Linked DNA regions of Homo sapiens: region 1 is linked to region 2. Evidence: promoter capture Hi-C in 16 types of primary human blood cells and fetal thymus (Javierre and others, 2016). All regions are on one chromosome and are shown on one strand. The core of a region is centred on a gene start or on the middle of the fragment in contact, and the rest is flanking DNA. Distances in the headings are between cores, read along the strand shown. Region 1 overlaps ZMYM1 (zinc finger MYM-type containing 1). Region 2 holds the start of ZMYM6 (zinc finger MYM-type containing 6).

Region 1 (6,219 bases), core at 2,315-4,814, 83 kb before region 2:
CCCCAGTAGCTGGGACTACAGGCACCCACCACTGCGCCTGGCTAATTTTTTTTAGTAGAGACGGGGTTTCACCATGGTCTCGATCTCCTGACCTCGTGATCCGCCCACCTCGGCCTCCCAAAGTGCTGGGATTACAGGCGTGAGCCACCATGCCTGGCCCAACTTCTTGATTTTATGACAAGATAGAAACTACAACTAAAAACAGCTAGAAAATGATGAAAATGAAAAAACACATGGTTGACCAAGCTGACTTTAGAGGAAAGTTCATAGCCTTAAGCACTTCCATTAAAAGAATGAAAATATATGCAACACACATTCAATACTAGAGTTAACTTCTATTTTCTTTTTTTTTTTTTTTTTTGAGACGGAGTTTCACTCTTGTCGCCCAGGCTGGAGTGCAATGGCACGATCTTGGCTCACTGCAACCTCTGCCTCCTGGGTTCAAGTGATTCTCCTGCCTTAGCCTCCTGAGTAGCTGGAATTACAGGCACCCACCACCACACCTGGCTCATTTTTTTTGTATTTTTAGTAGAGATGGGGTTTCACCATGTTGGCCAGGCTGGTCTTGAATTCTTGACCTTGTGATCCGCCTGCCTTAGCCTCCCAAAGTGTTGGGATTATAGGCGTGAGCTACCGTCCCCAGCCTATTTTCTCTCTTTTTTGAAACGGAGTTTCTCTCTTGTTGCCCAGACTAGAGTGCAATTGCACGATCTCAGCTCACTGCAACCACAGCCTTTGGGGTTCAAGCTATTCTCCCGTCTCAGCCTCCCGAGTAGCTGGTATTACAGGCATGTGCCACCACGCCCGGCTAATTTTATAGTTTTAGTAGAGACGGGGTTTCTCCATGTTAGTCAGGCTGGTCTTGAACTCCCGACCTCAAGTGATCTGCCCGCCTCGGCCTCCCAAAGTACTGTGATTACAAGTGTGAGCCACTGCGCCAGGCCTGTTTTCTCTTTTTTAAGGTGGAAATCAATAAATTAGGGCCGGGCATGGTGGCTTATGCCTGTAATCCCAGCACTTTGGGAGGCCAAGGTGGGTGGATCACCTGAGGTCAGGAGTTCGAGACCAGCCTGGCCAACATGGTGAAACCCCATCTCTACTAAAAATACAAAAAAATGAGCCAGGCGTGGTGGTGGGCACCTGTAATCCCATATACTTGGGAAGCTGAGGCAGGAGAATCACTTGAACCCGCGAGGTGGAGGTTGCAGTGAGCCAATATCACGCCACCGTACACTCCAGCCTGGGCAACAGAGCGAGACTCCGTCTTAAAAAATGAAAGAAAGAAAGTAAAACAGGTATATAGAAGATACTGAGAATATTTTCTACAACTCTAGGCAAATGCATTTGAAAGAAAGCCTCAATGAAATAGATGTTCTCCTAGAAAAAGTACAAGTTATCAAAATTGATGAGAGGGTAAGGGAGAAACAGCTGGAGAAAAGTGCCAGAGAAATAGTCTTTAAAAAAAAAAAAAAGGCCGGGCGCGGTGGCTCACGCCTGTAATCCCAGCACTTTGGGAGGCCGAGGCGGGCGGATCACGAGGTCAGGAGATCGAGACCACGGTGAAACCCCGTCTCTACTAAAAATACAAAAAATTAGCCGGGCACAGTGGCGGGCGCCTGTAGTCCCAGCTACTCGGGAGGCTGAGGCAGGAGAATGGCGTGAACCCGGAAGGCGGAGCTTGCAGTGAGCGGAGATCGCGCCACAGCACTCCCGCCTGGGCGACAGAGCGAGACTCCGTCTCAAAAAAAAAAAAAAAAAAAAAAAAAATTCCAGGCCTAGATATATATACCACTTAATTCTTTCAAATCTTTGAATATCACATTTTCTTTGTTATTTAAACTTTTCTGGCTGGGCGTGGTGGCTTATGCCATAATCCCAGCACTTTGGGAGGCCCAGGTGGGCGTATTACCTGACGTCAGGAGTTCAAGACCAGCCTGGCTAACATGGTGAAACCCCATCTCTACTAAAAATACAAAAATTAGCCAGGCGTGGTGGCGTGCGCCTGTCATCCCAGCTACTTGGGAGGCTGAGGCAGGACAATCACTTGAACCTGGGAGGCGGAGGTTGCAGTGAGCCGAGATCATACCATTGCACTCCAGTCTGGGCAACAAGAGCAAAACTCCATCTCAAAACAAAAACAAAACTTTTTTGAAGTATAAAGAAATAGTCTTTTCTTTGCAGGTTACTTAAATATAGTTATATTTTCATAACATGGCTTAATAATTTATTGTGCCATCCAGCTGAGATGTATAAATCAAAACCACAGCAGTGATTTTAACGTTTAAACAGGACAGTCTACAAAAAAGGAAATACAAATGGCTCAAACAAATAAACAGATACCTAACTTCATTCTTGTTTGTTTTAAAGAGATAAGGTCTCACTCTGTTGCCTAGACTCTGGAGCATAGTGGTGCAATCATGGCTCACTGCAGCCTCAAATTTCTGGGCTTAAGCAATCCTCCTGCCTCAGCCTCCCAAGTAGCTGGGACTTCGGGTGTGCAGTACCACACTTCACTAATTTAAAAAAAAAAAAATTGTAGTGATGAGGTCTTACTATGTTGCCAACCTCATCTTGAACTCGTGGCCTCAAGCGATCTTCCTTCCTGTGTAGGCCCTCAAAGGGCTGAGATTATAGGTGTGAACCACCACGCCCAGTCCCCAACCTTATTCTTAAGTGAATATACAAAATTCTACTGAGATTAAAACGCCATTTTTAAAGTAAGAGATTAGGAAAGATCAAAACATTTGATAACACTTACAAAGATTTAATAGGCACTCTCATGCATTGTGGGTGGGACTGTAAACTGGCACAATCCTTATAGATGGCAACTTGCCAATATCTATCAAAAGTAAAAATGCACATATCTTAACCTAGTAATTCTAACTTTAGATTTCCAGCTTACAGTAAACTCACTCATGTGCAATGTGACCTATATAAAAGGTTATAAAATGAATCATTATTTATAATAGCAAAAGGTTAGGAAAAAAATGTCAGCAGGGACTGCTCAAATATATTATGGTACATTCATACAATAACATCTGCAATTATAGACCAAGAATCAAGAAACTCTTCATGTAACGACATGGGACAATCTCAAAAATATGTTACACAGAGAAGACAAGCTGAAGAACAGTATACACCGTACAATACCACTTAGGAAAAATACCTCTAGAGGGATATTTAAGGAAAAGATAACACTTTTTGGGAAGAGAAAATGAGTTCTAAAGGAGGGAAGGAGACTTCACTGTTTATCGTTCTGTGTCTTTTGAATTTTGAACAATTTTGAAATGAAAACATCCCAATGGAAATACAAGTCTTTTAGGTAAGTTCAAATGAGCATGTATTATATTTCTTTCATCTGACTGATAAACTTTTCCACAATTTCATTGAGTCTTTCAGGCTCCATTAGTTTATTTACCAACTCCTGCTCAACAGCCATTAGGGCTGGGCCAGTAAGCTTCTCTTGTCCCATGGTATTACATAAATATGTCTTAAGACGAGGCAGGGTAGAAAATGAGTTCTCAGTACTTGCTGAAGTAATTGGCCAAGACAAAGCAATATATAATAGCTTTGAGAGACAAGGAATATTACTGTGAAGACCATGCTGAATAAACAAACAGCCGAGACTGACGAAGTTTATGCAACTATCATCTATGACAAAGTTAAGCTTTGCATAATGTCGATAAAATCTAAGTTCTGGGATAATGTCCTCATCAAGTTTATAAAATTCCTGAACATGTTTTGCTGTTGTTTCATTTAATGGTTCATTCCATTTAAATAACAGTTCTGAAATTTGCTTTATTTTGCAATAATCAAACTCCGAAAAACATAACTTTAAATTTTGTAATATAGTATCTAATCCTTGGTAATAGATATTAATTTTATATTGTTCTTCTGTTGAAGTAGGAAAAAACATATTATCTGAATTGCCAAGATCTACTGATTTCTGAATTTTTCTTCTTTTCTGAAGAGAAGGTTTTTCAACTTTAAAACCTTTACAGGTTATTTTTTGACATATTTCCTCTGTTCCATCCCAGATTGTTTTAAAGTATACGTCATTTCTTTCAGATGATAAACATTCCAAAATTGCTTCTATTTTTGAAGACAAAGAAAAAATGTCTATGGTTTTATTTTGAAGCTCTTTGGAAAGAATTCCTGTAACACTCAGCACTCGATACAGGAATTTCAAACAAAAGACAAATTCAAATTTGGAAACCAATGTCAGCAAATGACTCAATTCATCGGCGAAACTTGTATTTGAAGAATGGCTTGCTATAACTTCCAATGTTTCAATAATCTCTGGAAGACTGTCAATCACAGATAGTAATGTACGATCATGGACTGTCCAACATGATTGTGATATATGTTTCTTGCATGTTTTGTTTTGACTTAGCCTATAAATGTTTCGAAAATTTGCCAACATTTCCCCAGACATACAAATAGTGTTGAACAAAGAACTGAGAGTTTTTAGAGCACTTCGGAGTTCTTTTACTTCTTTACAAAACCTAATTATTGATAAATCCAAAAAGTGTGCATAACAATGTATGTATAAAGCTCTTGGTTCTTCTTTCTTGAATTCTGCTGCTATTTTATTAAATTTTATCTTCAAATTAGTGGTGCTATCATAGGCCTGGCCATGTATTTTATCCATATCAACTCCAATTTGCTGCAGATAAGTTTTGATAGTCCTATGTAAGTGGGTCCCAGTCATCTCCTCAGTATCAACAAAACCCAAGAATCTTTCCTTAATTAAGATAGCCTTTGATGATTTTTGTGGGTATCTTACACAAATTGAAAGCTGTTCTTTCATGGCACTATTGATTGTCTCATCACATATGATTGAAAATGCTGAGGAGTCATTGATCTCATTCACAATATCCTGCAACATTTCAGTCTTTATTATTTCGATAATATCACTTTGAATTTGTGTACTGTTATAGAAGTCAACTTGTGAATTCATAAGTCGAAATGTTTCTTCTCCTTTATCTTTTGCTCTCATTTCTAACAATTCTAAAAAATTGCCTTTATTCACAGATGAAACTGACTGGTCGTTTCCTCTTAAGGGTAAACACTGCTTTCCAAGAAATAAAATATTTTCAATTATAAGCTTTAGGTACTTTTTATTTCCCTCAATCTGTTTCGAATGAATAGATAAATCGTCACTGACAGCTCCATCACAAAATTGGTATTCTCTCCAAAATTCCAATGACTTCAAATGCATTTCACTTTTTTCATGCTTTCTGAATTTTTCCAGGGTTTTTTTCCAATTAGAAGTTCCGTGGGTTGCAAATGACTCTCTTCCACAGCTAAAATATTTTTGGCAGAACAACTGGCATGAATAACAGAATGCCACATCTTTTTTACTGTTTTCCAAACACTCAAAATCTGCACAACAAGATTTTTTAATACTTCGTGATTTACCTTTAACTTTTTGTACTTTGGATGTACATTTTGGGTGACATAGTTCATCACTTATTTTCATAGATTTCATATTGTCTTTTTGTACTTCTGTACTGGAACCAATTGCATGCTGACTGAATACTGATGAAGATGGTGAAACGCTTGGCTGTTCCGTACTACTACTAGCAACAGCATTACTGGGTTCACTAGGTGAACTCTTAGAAAGCTTTGGGAGAAAATGAGAAAAGAACATTTAACAGTTTTCAAAAATTAATTAAAATATCAAATATATCTACTCTAATAACATAGTAAAATAAATGGCTGAGTTACAGTATGAGCTCCACTAGGGGGAAACGTTAACAATTACGTATAACTTATTTATTTGCAATCTAGATTCAGCATTAAATGTTTGAAGGACCTTTTGGTATGTAATTGTCATAAAAATAATTTTTATTGCTCAGATGACTCAAATTGTGTAGTATTTTTTTAAAAGAAGAACCCAGAGGAAAAAAATACTTCTGTTTAAACAATCTACAAACATACACACACACCCCATATATGAATACATAATACATAAAATATATATTAAATATATAAATATAATATATAATAAATATACATTATAATATATTTATATTATATACAATATATTATAATATATTTATATTATATATTTATATTTTTATATATTATAGTATATATTATATATATATATAAAAAATCTGGGCCAGGTGTGGTGGCTCATGCCTGTAATCCCAGCACTTTGGGAGGCCAAGGTGGGCGGATCACCTGAGGCCAGCAGTTCGAGACCAGGTTGGC
Region 2 (5,918 bases), core at 1,543-4,042:
TCTGCCACCCAGGCTGCAGTGCAGTGGTGCGATCTTGGCTCACTGCAACCCCTGCCTCTGGGGTTCAAGTGATTCCCCTGCCTCAGCCTCCCTAGTAGCTAGGATTACAGGTGCCCACCATGCCCAGCTAATTTTTGTATTTTTAGTAGAGACAGGGTTTCCTCATGTTGGCCAGGCTGGTCTCAAACCCCTGGCCTCAAGAGTTCCGCCCGCCTCAGCCTCCCAAAGTGCTGCTATTATAGGCATGAGCCACTGTACCCGGCCACAAAGGTCTTTTAAGTTCATCAAAAGACACCAATAACAGAGTGAAAAGGCAAGCTACCGAGTGGGAGAAGATATTTGCAATATATACAGTAGTCCCTCCCTTATCCATGAGGATATGTTCGAAGATGTTCCACAGATGCCTGAAACCTCCAGTAGTATCAAACCCTATATATGCTATGTTTTTTCCTATACATACATACCTATGATAAAGTTTAATTTATAAATCAGGCACAGAAAGAGACTAACAACTAACAATAGAACAATTATAACAATAGACTTTAATGAAAGTTGTTTAAAACTTATGAATTATTTGTTACTGGAATTTTCCATTTAATATTTTCAGACCGTGGTTGAGTGTGGGTAACTACGACTTCAGAAAGCAAAACCGTGGATGAGGGGGGCTAGTGTATATTCAAAAAAGACTTATCTTAGTGTATTCCTGATTGCCAAAAGAAAATGCCACAGACTGTGTAATTTATAAATAGTAGAAATTTATTTCTCACAGTTCTGGAGGTTGGCAAGTCCAAGATCAAGGCACTGGCAGATTTGTTGTCTTGGAATTACTCTCTAATTCCAAGATGAAACTTTGTTGTTGTCCTCTTGCTGGGAGGAACATTGTTATCATACAGTGAGGGGTTAAAAGGGCAAAAGGAATGAATCTTTGTGAAGGGCATGAATGCCCTCTTTTGTAAGGGCATGAATCCCATTCATGAGGATGGAGTCCTCATAGCCTAACCCCTCCCAAAGGCTCCACTTCTTATACCATCGCCTTAATGTTTAAGTTCCAATATATGAATTTTGAAGGGACACATACATTCAAACCATAGCAGGATTCATATCTAAAATATATGCCCATAAGAAAATGTCAATCCAATACAAAAATGAGCAAGAGACTTGAACAGGCACTTATGGGGGATATCCAGATACCCAAGGAACAAGAAAATGGGCTCATCCTCATTAATAATCTGGGAAATGCAAATTAAAACCACAGTGAGATACCACTATGCCCCCATCAGAATGGTTATAATTAAAAAGATATGCAGCAGTAATTATTGGCAAGGATGTTGGGAAACTGAAACTCTCATACATGGCTGAAGGGAGTATAAACTGAAACCACCATTTTCTAAAATTGCCTGAGATTATCTACCTAAATTTTACATATACATAACAAGCAATTTCACTTTTAGGTATGAACCCAACAGAAATGTGTGCATATGTATCACTGTTAAATAAAACTTGTAGGCCATTGTTTCGGGCTAAGCTCCTGCAGTAGGTCTCAATGAACCAGACTAAAAATCAAAATGGAGTCACTCACACTGAGGTTCCATGTCATCAAATGGAAACTACGTTGTTATTTGAAGTTCTGAAAAGTCAGGAAAAAGAGATAATAAGAGTCTAATTTCCCCTGAGTGCCAGTTTCAATTAGCATAATAATGAAATTTCTTCTGCTTTAATCGTTACCAAAAAAAGATAAACTGAAGTTACCTGATGTTAACCAATCAGTTATTTCTCTATTGTTTTGTTTCTTGGTTCTGCTTTACAAGGAAATTAACTTATTTATTTATTTTTTGGAAAGTTACTTTGAAATGAACCAATCTGTTTTTTGTTCTTTACTTCTGCTTTCTCCAGCCCTTCTCTGTCTATAAAACCTACCTCTTCTGCTCAGCTCATTGGAACACTTGTTCTATTTTATGGAATGAAGTGCTGCCAGATTCTAGAATCACAAATAAAGCTAATTGAGATATTTAAATTAAATTTGTTGTAATTTTGTCTTTTAACATCACCAATGACAAGAATGTTCACAGAAGCATTATTCCTAATAGCCACAAATTGGAAACAACTCAAATGTCCATCAGTAGTAGATGATTAAAATTGTATCATATTCATAAAATAGAATACTATACAGCAGTCAAAATGAATGAACAGTCACAAATCATACACGTATCTGTGAAACAATGTTGAATTAAAAAAACCAAATCTCAATTTTGAGCAAGTTTTTTCATTTATATCTCAAGAGATTAAAAAATTATACCTCTTAGGGTTAAATGGTGAGGATTAAGTGGGATGGTGCATGTGAAGTGCTCAGCAAGCCAAGTATTATTTAATATCATGCTCTCTCAGTAGGCCACCTTTCAGGAAATGGGCACTAAAGGATGCTACAGATTAGCTAGGTGTGGTGGCACGTGCCTGTAAGCCCAGCTACTCGGGAGGCTGAGGCAGGAGAATCGCTTCAACCCAGGAGGCGGAGGTTGCAGTTAGCCGAGATTGTGCCACTGCACCCCAGCCTGGGCAACACAGTGATACTCTGTCTCCAAAAAAAAAAAAAAAAAAAAAAAAAAAAAAAAAAAAAAAAAAGAATGCTATAGAGCACTTACAGCGCCTTCTAACGCCATCTCCACCTTTTCACTATTGAGCCTCGGTCTCTTTAAGAAGTGAACCATAATTGAGGAAAGAGGAATGCTGGGAAGTTCTACTCAGCTCAGGTCCGGAGCCTGACGGGAAAAGAGGGCGGAGACCAAGGCTGCGCAGGCGTGGTTGGCCGGTCGTTGCGTTGGGATGGATCAGGCGGAATTCCAGAAGAGAAAATAATCCCTGTCTAGATGCAGAGGACTTGGTTCCTATTCCAGTGCTCCTCCGGTAGCAGGGAGGCGACAGAAGGTGGGTGCGGCCGCAGTGGTAGTGGGCGGGACGGCGGGGCGGAGGCCACACCACGTGACGAGGCGTTGCGGCGGGGGCGGTGCCAGGTGGGCTACGCGGCTGGGGCGGCTGCGGATATCGCCTTAGGGACGCGTTGACATTCACTGGCTAGTCCACCGCTCTCAGTCGGAGACCACATTGCCTCGTTAGTCCTCAATGATGGGAGTGGGAATTCTTGGTGGGAAGGAGAATTTCGGAAAGCGTGCGGTTCTCAGAGGAGGGATGAGCGCCCGTAGATATTTTGTGGCGAGTGCGCAAAAGTTCTCATTTCTTCTTTGGAACAGGCTTTTCAACCAGTTGTCCGTTTCCATCCCGGACTATTCGGATAAAGACAACTTTGAAGAGCTTTTTGTTTTAGGTTTAATTCGTCCCGTTTAGTTCTTTGACTTTTAGGGGAAGGGAATTTACTGAATGGCCAATTGAGTTTCTTTTCTACAGGAAGGCGATTGTGAAGCGGGGCTCTGAGGGGCTTGATGCCCCCCACCCCTCACACGGAGACCTTGAAAGAGGCAGGTGACTCACTTTCAGTAAGGGCGTTCCTGTTGTTCGCCTGCGATGGATGGCATCTTGAGCTCACATCTAGCGTTAGGCCGAGAAATGGGGCCCTTAGGGAGGCTTCCAGTGAAGGTTGAGTTATAGGTCAGGGCCGGGAGGTTGTTGTGCCCCTCTTTGAGAAATAAAAGCCGACGTGGGCCTCTAAGTACTGATTCTTATGGGGTCAGAAACTATTTCTTGAGTCCGTTCTTCTCAGAGTTTATTACTTCCTCCCACGTCTTGGTCTGCTGGTCTAATTCCCTTCAATAACCTTCAACATAGGAAAAAACCAGAGTGTGTTGTGTGTCTTTAAAGATATTAGAGAAGTGGGAGCTGTTGCCCCAAAACTGTTTTCTTATGTAGCTACTGAAGGAACAGAAAGCAGGAAGAAAGAAAAAAGTTAGTTGTGGCCCCAGAAGAGTTGTTTTTCAAATGCCGAGCCGTGAAGCCTCATGCACTCAACACAAAGTTTTTCTTTCATATAGATAAGCCTGAAGAAAAAAGAATAAGCCTGAGTATGTATTTTAGGTGTCCAACTATCCATTACCAAGAAGAAATCTATTCGTTTGAGCCTGAGACACTCTTTGAGGTAAAAAATTAGAATGAAAGAACCTTTGGATGGTGAATGTGGCAAAGCAGTGGTACCACAGCAGGAGCTTCTGGACAAAATTAAAGAAGAACCAGACAATGCTCAAGTAAGCATTTCATCTTCATTTAAAAATTTAAAAAAATTCCTTCTTTTCCATCTGGTCAACTGAAAAATTTTAGTTAAACGGCTTCTGGTTTGTAAGTTTAAAATAACCCAAACTGAGACAGGCTCTCGCTGTCGCTGAGGGTGTAGTGCAGTGGTGCGATCTCCTTAGCTCACTGCAGCCTCCACCTCCCAGGCTCAAGTGATCTTCCCACCTCAGCCTCCTGTGTAGCTGGGACCACAGGGCACACACCAACATGCTCAACTATTTTTTTGTATTTTTGGTAGAGACGGGGTTTGGCCATGTTTCCCAGGCTGGTCTCAAACTCCTGAGCTCAAGCAATCCACCCACCTTGGCCTCCCAAAGTTCTGGGATTACAGGCATGAGCCACCATTCCTGGCTGGTTTTTTGCTCTTTGAATGAAAGCTATAACTACATGATTTTTTTGTGTGTGGAAGGAAAGTAATATATTTACCATTTTTCCATACTTGTCACTTAAAAAAAATTCTCTTGTATCTGGTAGTACTTTCCTTTATTCTGTTAAGAATTTGTGGTCTGTGCTAGTCTCTGGGGATCCAGGATTGAGCAAAGTCAGCTTAGTCCCTTCCCTTGTAGAGCTTATATGTTAGTAGAGGAGGCAGAGATTACAAAAGTATTGGTCAAGTAATATATATAATTACAAACTATGACAAGTACTCTGGAAGAAAAGCCTAAAATGGGGAATCTGACCTAGTTTTGGTTGTGGTCTGCCTGGGGATGGCTAGGGAAGGCCTCTCTAAGGGAAGGATGTGTAAGCTGAATTATGAAGAATGAATTGATTAGGCAAAGGGTATGGAGAAGAGTATTACAGACAGAGGGAACTGTGAATAGGAAAGCCCTGAGTTGGAAAGATGCATGGTTCTTTTTAAGACCTGCAGGAACAGTGAGCCTGGAACAGAAAAGGTATGAAAATGGTGATGATGATAATGATTAAAACAACAACAATAAAAATAGCTGGCATTAGTATATCAGTATGTAGTATATATTATATCATAATCATATGTGACATTATTAACTTAATATTTATATATGCTTAAGAGTGTGTCAGGCACCATTCTTACCACCATATTATTATCCCCATTTTACAGATGAGGAAACCAAAGCTCAAAAAAGCCAAATAGTTTACCACAGATCACAGTTAGTAGTAAATGACAAAGACTGGATTCAAATCCAGGTGGTCAGACTCCAGAACTTGTGCTATTCTGCTTCTCTATGATAAGGCTGTATATATAGTTTAAGGCTGGATTATGTAGGACGTAGCAGACCTTGTTATAAATTTTGGTTTTTATCCTAAGAGCAGTAGATAGCCATTATAGGGTTTTTTGTTTTTGTTTTGAGATGGAGTTTTGCTGCAATGTTGTAATCTTGGTGGCTCACTGCAACTTTCACATCCCGGGTTCAAGTGATTCTCCTGCCTCAGCCTCCCCAGTAGCTGGGATTATAGGCGCCTGCCACCACGCCTGGCTAATTTTTTGTATTTTTAGTAGAGACGGGGTTTCACCATGTTGGCTAGGCTGGTTTCAAACTCCTGACCTCAGGTGATCCACCCACCTCAGCCTCCCAAAGTGCTAGGATTACAGGCGTGAGCCACCACACCTGGCCAATTGTAGGGTTTTAAGTGAGAAAGTAAGATGAAACAGATTTGTGTTTGGAAAGATCATTCTGGCTACCCCATAGGGACCCAGAATGGAG

Evidence for each region. The method cuts DNA at HindIII sites, captures the fragments that hold promoters and counts their contacts. A CHiCAGO score of 5 or more calls a contact.
Region 1: a fragment that was not itself captured here is called in contact with the fragment with the promoter of ZMYM6 in region 2 in 3 of 17 cell types (M1 macrophages, endothelial precursors and megakaryocytes); the score reaches 6.4 in M1 macrophages.

What each region holds. Positions count from the first base shown.
Region 1 is chr1:35,112,384-35,118,602 of GRCh38, reverse strand. It overlaps ZMYM1 (zinc finger MYM-type containing 1), which reads right to left. Exons shown (of 10, transcript NM_024772.5): 10 at 2,744-5,626. The coding sequence ends at 3,344. Among named protein-coding and RNA genes, the nearest start is that of ZMYM1, 36 kb to the right of the region's middle. The HindIII fragment of the contact is 210 bases long and covers 3,460-3,669 here.
Region 2 is chr1:35,028,819-35,034,736 of GRCh38, reverse strand. It overlaps ZMYM6 (zinc finger MYM-type containing 6), which reads left to right and starts at 2,792. Exons shown (of 16, transcript NM_007167.4): 1 at 2,792-2,922; 2 at 4,024-4,190. The coding sequence starts at 4,098. It overlaps LOC124903990 (a long non-coding RNA gene), which reads right to left and starts at 2,017. Exons shown (of 2, transcript XR_007065739.1): 1 at 1,580-2,017. RefSeq lists enhancers at 2,603-2,782, 2,439-2,963, 2,964-3,490 and a silencer at 2,953-3,072. The HindIII fragment of the contact is 24,078 bases long and covers 1-5,918 here.